Linked DNA regions of Homo sapiens: region 2 is linked to region 1. Evidence: promoter capture Hi-C in human tissues and cell types (Jung and others, 2019). All regions are on one chromosome and are shown on one strand. The core of a region is centred on a gene start or on the middle of the fragment in contact, and the rest is flanking DNA. Distances in the headings are between cores, read along the strand shown.

Region 1 (4,536 bases), core at 1,092-3,591:
TCAGTTTCACTTGCTTTCAAACGCGTACCTTTGAGGTTTGGGAATTCAAGGACAAAATGATTTTAATTTGATGCATTTTGTACTTTGACCAATAAGGGAAAAATAAATGCCCTCAAATTTGATTGGTTCTAGTCATATTTGCCGGTCACTATTTGTCAAACCATTGCACTTAAAATCACAGGCATGAAAGATCTCTCAAAAACAGATTTCTGAGGAATGCAAATCAACAGAACGGGGAGGCGGATTAATGTGTTTGATTTCTCAAAAGTCTATTTACTGTCCAATTTATCTTCGTCCTTGGACATGCTAGCAAGTAATTATTCTTATGGCTGGTAAAATGACTGCTAAACATTTATTAATAATTGCAGTTTTGGAATTACTTTTTTATTAACCAGTCATGTTGGTTTCTAAAAATTGTTACTTCTGGCTAGACACAGGAGCCAGGTGCTGAGAGTTGACCTGGTGCCAAGTTTCAGGACTGTCCAGTCTTCACATCAGATCTTCAGCTAGGCCTTCTGAATATTCTCACAGTTAGAAAATCTATCCCCCTAGACTCGCAGATGCTGTTTTTCCCCCACTGGCTCTGCACAGAACATCATTATCTTTGCCACGCTTCTGTCTCTATGGCAATAACAGATGGAAAGTGCTGTGGAATTATTCATGTTCAGGAAAGGAGGCAGTCAAGAAGGAAGAAAAGGTGGGGGGGCGGGGTGGAGAGGGGGCACGACCTGGGAGCTCGGCGGTGGAGGCCTAAGGAAGGGAACTTGGGTGGGGGTGCGGGGAGTGGTGGGGATTGAGAGGCTTGTGAGCCTTTCGGAGGCCTGTTGTGAGGAAAAAAAAAATAAAAAGTACGAGCACAAGAGTATTTCCAGCCGGCCGACTGCAAATGTGGGCCCCCACAGGAACAACCCGAAGCAGTAAAACTAGAAGAAATTGGACGAAAATGGGGGGGAAAAAAGGGACAAAGCTCGAGTCTCCTGAATTTTGTGCACTGCTACTCGGTGGACTATTTCAGTTCCTGATCTTGTGGTGGGGTGGAGAAAAGGGGATTTCTTGGTGTTTCGAAATGTGACGGAGCAGCTCTGCAGAGTTCAATATGCTAATCGGCTACCCTGGGAACCAGGAAGACCACCCTACACGCCTCAGAGGGTCACAGCCGGAAAGCTCTTGAGTCCTATCTTCCCTACCTCGTCTCGTCCCTCTCCAAAAAAACACACACACAAAAAAACACCCTCAGTAAACACTGTAAAAACCTTTAATTTATAGCTCCCTTCTGGAACCGAGAGAGCAGCCTGGTGGGGTGGAGGCAGGAGGCTGGGGAGTAGGGACAGAAATGTTTGCTCTCGGTTTTGCCGGAACTTTGGCCACCCCTCCCGCCCGGCCCGATGGCGGATGGAGGTCAGCCAGGGGAAGGCGTCTGGGTGGAGGCCGCCCGGGCGAGGCCGGGGCCGCCGGGGCGGGGCGGAGCGCCGGCAGCTGGCTGGGCGGCCCTCGGGCAGGAGGCCCCGCGGGGGCGAGGGGCAGCCCAGGAGGGAGGTCCCGCGGGGGCGGGGAGCAGAGCCGGCCCCGGGGGCCCTGCAGGGCGGCCGCCGCCCGGCTGCCTCCGGGGCGGGGCGGCCCAGCTGCGGCCCCGCAGGGGGAGGGTCGCCCGTGCCTGACCTCGGGCGGCGGCACTCTGCCGGGCGGGCACTGCCTCCGCCCTGCCGGCTGCTGGGGTCGCGCACAGTGCACCGCGCGGCTGCCCTGCCCCCTCTTCCCCGCTGCGCGGCGTCCGAGCGGCCAGGGCGCCCCCGCGTCTGGCCCATCACCACAGAGCGGCGGGTGGGGCGGGGGCGGGGCGGTGGCCCCAGACAGCCGGCTGGGCGACTAGAGGAAGGAAGGAGGGAGGGCGGCGGTGAGGGTGGGGTGGGGAGGGAACATCCTGTCTGCGCCGGGTGCACCGCAGACAGCGCCGCGCGCCAGCTTCCCAGACGGCGCGCGGGGCCAGAAGCGCCGGGCGCGCGCCTGGGGGGAGGGGCACGCGCGCGAGACGACGGGGCCAGGGGGGCGCTCTGAGGAGCCACAATAGGCCAGACGGCACGCGCGTCCACGAGGGGGCCGGGAGCCGCGAAGTGGCGGCGGCGGCGACGACGCCGGCGGGCCCGCGCGCGCGGCGCCGCCGCTGGCTCCGTTCCCTTCCCCTCCCCCTCCCCGCCGCCCTCGCTCTCCCCCGGGCGGCCGGAGACGGCGGCGGCGTCTGCGGGAAGCTGTGTGTCTCCGCAGTGACGTGGGCGGGCCGAGGACTCGGTGACGTCAGAGGGCTGTGTGTAGCGATGTGTGTGGGGTTCGGAGCCGCGCCGGCACAGCCGAAGGGAGCGGGCGAGCGGCGACGGCGGCGGCGGCGGGCACAGGTGCGGCTCCGGCTTACGGCGGCGACGCGGCGGAGGCGGCGGGAGGCCAGAGGCGCTCACCCTCCTAGGAGCCCGACGGCGGCGACAGGGGCGGTGGGGAATTCACAAAGCTCGTCGAGCTTACCCGGGCACCGAGGCCCGAGTAGGGGGTTTGGATGCGCGGGTCCCGGGTGGGGTCGGGGCCAGAGGGGGTCGCTAGGCGGGTGTTCCACGGCTGATCACGCTTCGTTGGCCCCAGGCGGTGGGCGCCGGCAGGGCAGGGCGCTGTAGTTGACGGGAGCCGCGGGGACCCCGGAGACCCGGACGCCCGTCACCGCCCCCCTCCCCCAGTCCAGCAGCGCTCCGCGGGGATGCCCTGGTCTCGACCCGGTCCGTCAGCCCCCGGCGGCGCAGGGATCCGCGCCCGGCGCCTAAACTGCCCTGGTGTCCTCTTCGTTCTGGCCCGGGGCTGGCGCGGGGAGGTGCAGCATTAGGGGCGCTGAGGTGACACCCGAGAACTTCCCAGGGAGAGGGTGCGCGGGGGGGTGGATTTCCACAGTCCTTCCCGCGGCCCCCGCGGGGGGGCGGTGTTGGGAGGGCACTTGGGGTTATCCCAGGCTCGCCGGTGGGGGTGGGGGGACTCCTCCCTTTACTTCCCTCCACCCCCTTGCACACCCACCCCCAGGCTTCCCGTGTCCCTTGTTCTCCCTCTCTCCGGGTTAGAGATAGGTGGGTGGCTTTGAGTGGGCGGAGGACTTCAGGGTTTTAGGGGCTCCCCCATTCTAGGTCATGCCTCTTGCTCTCTTCCTTGGCCTGTGTTGAGTAAGGTGTGTTCCTGTGGTGGACGAAAGTCTGTACGATGGTTGGTGGCATTGGTCCTTAATCCTTTGGGTCTGTTTTAAGGTAAAGTGCTGAGAGTTTGGGAAGCAAAAATTTCTATTTATTGGATTTCTTTTGGCTTTTCTCTCAAGAAGGAAGTGGAAAAAGAGTCTTTTCTTTTTCCCTCTTCCTCCATTTGCATTCTTTGTGAGGTTTGTCTGCCTTGTGCTTTTTGTCCCGGATTAGTCTTGTTGAAGGATGGAGATTCCCAGGCGTGGAGTCTATAGCTTTTGGCTTCCATTAAGTAAAATCGCTAACCTTTTTTTAAGAGAAAGTTAATTTTTGCCTGCAGTCATTCCAGAAAAATAGTGTACACGGACTAGCTGAATTAATCCACTTAAAATTGTAACTTAGTTACATATGGTAGATATGTTAACTCCTATCTGATTTTTTTGGATGAAACTGTTGTTTTGTTTTTAAATAGGAGATGAAGTAATGGATTTTTTTCCCTCCCTTAAAATGGCATAGCTGAGAAAGCCCCGGTACTACTAATTGAGATGATCTGCTTAAGAGTCTTCATATTCTGAACTCGAAAGGCCTTTTATGTTATATTATTGCTCGCTTTACGCAACTCCAAATTGCTTTCCTATTTAAATGAATGTTCTTCTAGTAAACTGGTGTTAGATTTAAAGAAATCACTCAAGCTTCACCTTGGTAAACTGAACTCAGTTTAAGATTAAGAAACTGATTTCGGCCGGGTGCGGTGGCTCACGCCTGTAATTCCAGCACTTTGGGAGGCCCGGGCGGGCGGATCACCTGAGGTCAGGAGTTCAAGACCAGCCTGACTAATATGGTGAAACCCCGTTTCTACTAAAAATACAAAAAAATTAGCCGGGTGTCGTGGCTTGTGCCTGTAGTCCCAGCTACTCCGGAGTCTGAGACAGGAAAATTGCTTGAACCCGGGAGGCGGAGGTTGCAGTATGCCGAGATCGCTGCACTTCAGCCTGGGCGACAGAGCGAGACTCCGTAAAAAAAAGAAAAAAAAAAAAATAAAAGAAACTGGTTTCAAATTGGCCCTTTGGCCTCTGGAGCAAATTCAAATGTAACTCTTCCCCAACCCCCCTTCTCTTCTTCCAGATTAATTAAAAGAAGAATGAACTATAATCCTTGAAGATAACTGGGCAATTTTTTAAGTCGGAGGCTGTTCTTACTGGTGTGAGGATTTACACACGTCTTCAGTTTTTCAGCACAGACCAGCAGACCATCATTTTTAGAGGAAATACTCCCTCTGCCCTCCTTTTTGGTTTCCTTGGTGGTAAAGATTAAATTTGGTTGCATCATTTTGACT
Region 2 (4,536 bases), core at 1,037-3,536, 360 kb after region 1:
AATATATAAGAGATAGGACTTCCAGGCAGAGTAGAAAGGCACTGATGCCTTATATAACATGGCATGTCTGGACAACTTCAAAAAGTTTAGTATCATTGGCATGCAAAGGTAAAGGAAGCCAGGGCCGAGGCTTATAGTGTGCCAGATACCATTCTAACTGCTAAATATTTATTATCTCACTTAATTTCTATAACACTATGAGGGTGGTACCATTTGCCCCATTTTATAAAGGAGCAAACTGAGCCTTAGAGGGGTTACATAACTTGTTCAAGGTTACTGGTAGATGGTAGAAATGAGATTTGACCCTCCTGAAGAAGTGACATTATTAATGGCTATGCAAAACTGCTTCCCCAATATTTATCTTCTTACTCCAGCTCACAGAAAAACTTTTCTGGTTTTTGCTCTCATCAAGTAGCTGCCAAAGTACTTGTTTTTAATCAAGATATTTTTATCTGCAAGGTCATCAAAGATAGCTGGTGTGTGGAATGCAGCCATTGTACAATATCATCATTCCTTGGCTGAAAGGAATGTGGATCAGACCCTATTTCTCCAAATACGACAATTGCTGAATGGCAAATTATTTCAAGTTCAAATCGGAGGTTTGAACTTGAAATAATTATTATCAGCTAATCAAATTGCAGCTTCACCAAAATCTGGGCTTCAGCAGACTTTGAGCTGTAGAGGGAGTTTTGGAGAAAGCTGTATATTTGAAATTATAGAGGAATGAGTATGTTTATGAAAAAGCATTAGAAAAACAGATGCCTTTATCAGTTTCATGGCTTTGCTTCTTGTGAGTCTCTTTTCATTCTCCAAGCACCCTAGTCTGTGGATGAAGAGCCAGCCTGGGATGATGGAAATCCCAGCGAACCTGCAGCTTAAGATCTCAAGTTTGGTCACATAGGACACGTAGAAGCTTGAGCATGAAAGTTTCTCTTTTTAATTTCCTTCCCTGTGTGGACAAGGAGTTAAAAGTTCAGGTTTGAGGGCCAAAATTCCAGAGCTTAAATCCTAGCTTTGCCAATCCCCAAATGTGTGCCCTTGGACAGGATACTTCTTGCGCATTGGTTTGCACATCTGTAAACCAGGGAGAGTAGTAATACCTACCTCATGGGGCTGTTGGGGACAGTAACTGAGATAATTCATAGGAGAAGCTTAGAATAGCGTCCAGCACAAAGTAAGAATGCAAAAAATGTTAACTTTTATTATTGTTGTTTTCTTCTAGTTCTTGACTTCTCTGCCCCATTCAAGCCTAAGTGTTCCCTTAGCCCTACAGAAAGCTAGAAGAAAATCGTTCACTTCCTCTTTAATTTTTTTTCTACTTAAGGAAGACCAGTGTAAACATCTGTGCATTATAGTACAGTGCAGGTATGAAGGAGCCAGACCTGTAGCCCTGGTGCAACACATTTGGCATTCAGTGTGCTTTGTAGGCTGCTGCTCCTCACAACGGACAAGAATCCATTTAGTTTCAGATCAACAATGGTAGCTTTACTTCCTTTTTGCTCTCTGGTGGGAATTGCGGTCTTTTTGCCATAACCAGGCATTATGATCTGTGTATAATGGAAAAATAAATATTGATGAACTTTTTATTTATTTCTTTTAATGAGGGGAAGCTTACTCTTTTCAGTTGAAAAATTCTACTGGAAATAAATCATATTGCTATGGAAACCCTGCCCAATCAGCACTGAAGTGTGGTTGCTATATATGTTCTTTGAATGTACATGCTATCAGCATTACATTTTGGCACGTATTTGACTTCCAATTCTGTTTCCACAGTGTTAGACTAGAGCCCATCCGCTGACTGCTTCTCTGTTCAGTCTTTTAGGATTCCTTGCTATCTTTGGGATGCTGAATCATGTAGAAACCACAGAAATCCTGTGATTAGTTCTGGCTCTGCAACTTCTGTCCTGGGGCAGGTTTCTAGTCTTTCTGATCCAGTAAGATTATCTATAAATTCTTTGGACTATAAAAATAAAAACAATATCTTATAAGGTTTCGGTGAAGATCAAATAAAGTCATAATATGAATAAGTACTTAATACATTCTAAAATGCTATATAAAGGTAAAATAGTTTTGCTTCCAGAAAAGCTACCCACTGCATAAGTTACACATCTCAAACAATCTTTGGAGTTTCTGTTTTTTTTCCTTATAGTTGGGTTATGAGAGGTATGATGATGTAGAAGATGAATGCAGACCCACTGTGGTAAGAATCCCAGCAACATTACTCACTGTTTATATATGCAATCTTGGTCGGGTTACTTAACCTTTCTAAGCTTCACTTTCTTTATCTTTAAAATCAAAATGGTAGAATTTATATCCAGGATTATTTAGTAGATTAGAAAAAAATTATATGTTAAACACAGTGCTTGGCAGATAGATAACCACTTAAAAATGGTACTTACTGCTGAAAATAATGATGCTGTGCCCAAACTGACAACATCAAACAAATTCTAAACTACTCAGCAATTTGGAACTGGTTTATATCAAAGAGAATACCATTTGTCAACACCTGAAAATTCTTATTTATTCTAGAAGAGCATTCATTTAGAAATGACAACTCCTCATAGATTCTGCAACATTCACTGAGTATCTACTAAGTGCACAGAAAGATGAATAGAATGGCAAAGTTCTTATCCTCCATAGTGCTATAACTTGTGGAAGTATAATAAAGTTGCACACGAGTAACTGCAATGCTTGTGGTAACTCACTGATAATGTTCATGTGACAAGTAATTTCAATGAATATAATAGAATGATCAAGAATGCAAAAATGAATTCTTTCAAGCAGAATTTCTTGCACAAGAGTCTATGAAAACTCAGAATGAGAGAAACAGGTGCCACAACTCATAGATATGGAGACATGTATTAGTCCATTCTTATGCTGCTGATAAAGACATACCCAAGATTGGGTAATTTACAAAGGAAAAGAGGTTTAATGGACTTACAGTTCCACGTGGCTTGGGAGGCCTCACAATCATGGTGGAAAGAAAGGAAAAGCAAGTCATGTCTTACATGGATGGCAGCAGGCAAAGAAAGAGAGCTTGTGCAGGGGAACTCCTCTTTATAAAACCATCAGATCTTGTGAGACTTATTCACTGTCATGAGAACAGTACAGGAAAGACTTGCCCCCATGATTCAGTTACCTCCCACCAGGTCTCTCACACAACTCGTGGGAATTCAAGATGAGATTTGGGTGGGGACACAGACAAACCATATCAAGACAGCAGTGATATATCTGTCCCTGCAAAGCTTTGCAGAGTCTCTGACTGACCCTAAGGTTGAAAGTCAAATTGGAGGAGAGAGTGCTAATTATTATACAGGATGACTTTGTACCCTATCTCTGCCTGATAATTACCATCAGTACTAGTATAGTCACCAAAACATTCAATCTGAAGAGAAGTTGAAAATACATGGTGTCTCTGAGCCAAAATTGACCCTTGATGAAGAGAAGAAGTTGGTCTAAATTGAAACAGAACTATCAGTAATTCAATCAAGGAATGCTAAGTCAGAGCCAAGAAAGAGGGAGCATCTCATTTTCAGTTGTAGAGATTATTCAGCTCGGCTTATTTGGTAATTTAAATGTAGTCATACTTTAGTTGTAATGCACATAAATAGCACTTTGGTCATGGATCAAATGTGATAAATTTTAATAAATTTCTGAAGCAATACAAAAACTGCATGTACTCATTTTCGTCTTCACACACACATGTTCAAACACACACATGTGCATACACACACACAAGTGGACCCTGGATTAGGATGCTTTCGTAACTCAGTGAATTATTCTCCTCCCACCAGCAGAGTGAAATGGCTATTTTCTTTTCTTTCTTTCTCTTCCCTCTCCATCCTTTCCCTTCCTTTCCCTTTTTTGTTCTTTTCTCCACTCACGACTCCCTCCCTTCTTTTAAACCTTTTTCTCCTGTCCATGATTTTAAGGACAACGGGATGCCAGTGGAAGGGCAAATCAGTGATTTAGAACTGGCAAATCTCTCAGACTGTTATGCCTCATTTGGAATTTTCAGCACAGAGATAACAATGCGTGCCTCCAGATGGATGGTGGGTCTAAATCTTGCCTCAGGCTTCCTTTGTGGGAGGCATTTGAGCATTTATTGAGCCTTTCTAGAAGGAAATGCCTTGAAGAGTGAGATGATGCAGTAAAGAGTCTATAGTGCACTCCAGAGGGGATATGTGGAGGCATATTTAGAATAGTTCTCTTTTCCATAAAGAAATTGAATGAGAATGAACATTTTCCCTGAGTAAAGTGAATGCAGAATCATAGAAACTCCATGAGTATCTATTGAGTGAATAAATTGGCCAATGAGGAAAAAGTAAAAAGGGTTTATGAAGATAAAACATGAAGAATGAGGGAGTAAGATTATGAAAGCTCCACAATAACCTATATCTGCTTACATTTTCCACCTCAAATTATAGCTTCTAGTTTTCCTCTCAGCATGGTCTTCCTGTGCTGCACCTTCTCAGTCAGAACTCCACATTCTCTTTCACACACACACACACACACACACACACACACACACACACA

The links. Contacts are between HindIII fragments. The study calls those that stand out against the background at their distance.
Region 2: a fragment that was not itself captured here is called in contact with the fragment with the promoter of SKIL in region 1 in 1 of the 25 tissues and cell types used here (IMR-90 fibroblasts).

Annotation. Positions count from the first base shown.
Region 1 is chr3:170,355,374-170,359,909 of GRCh38, forward strand. SKIL (SKI like proto-oncogene) reads left to right here and starts at 2,342. Exons shown (of 7, transcript NM_005414.5): 1 at 2,342-2,390; 2 at 4,326-4,536. RefSeq lists an enhancer at 915-1,014 and silencers at 1,295-2,194, 2,355-2,584, 2,635-2,764, 2,855-2,924. The HindIII fragment of the contact is 15,648 bases long and covers 1-4,536 here.
Region 2 is chr3:170,712,521-170,717,056 of GRCh38, forward strand. All of the region lies in intron 3 of SLC7A14-AS1 (SLC7A14 antisense RNA 1), which reads left to right. It overlaps LOC124906302 (a long non-coding RNA gene), which reads right to left. Exons shown (of 3, transcript XR_007096159.1): 2 at 1,383-1,547. Among named protein-coding and RNA genes, the nearest start is that of SLC7A14, 130 kb to the left of the region's middle. The HindIII fragment of the contact is 4,077 bases long and covers 249-4,325 here.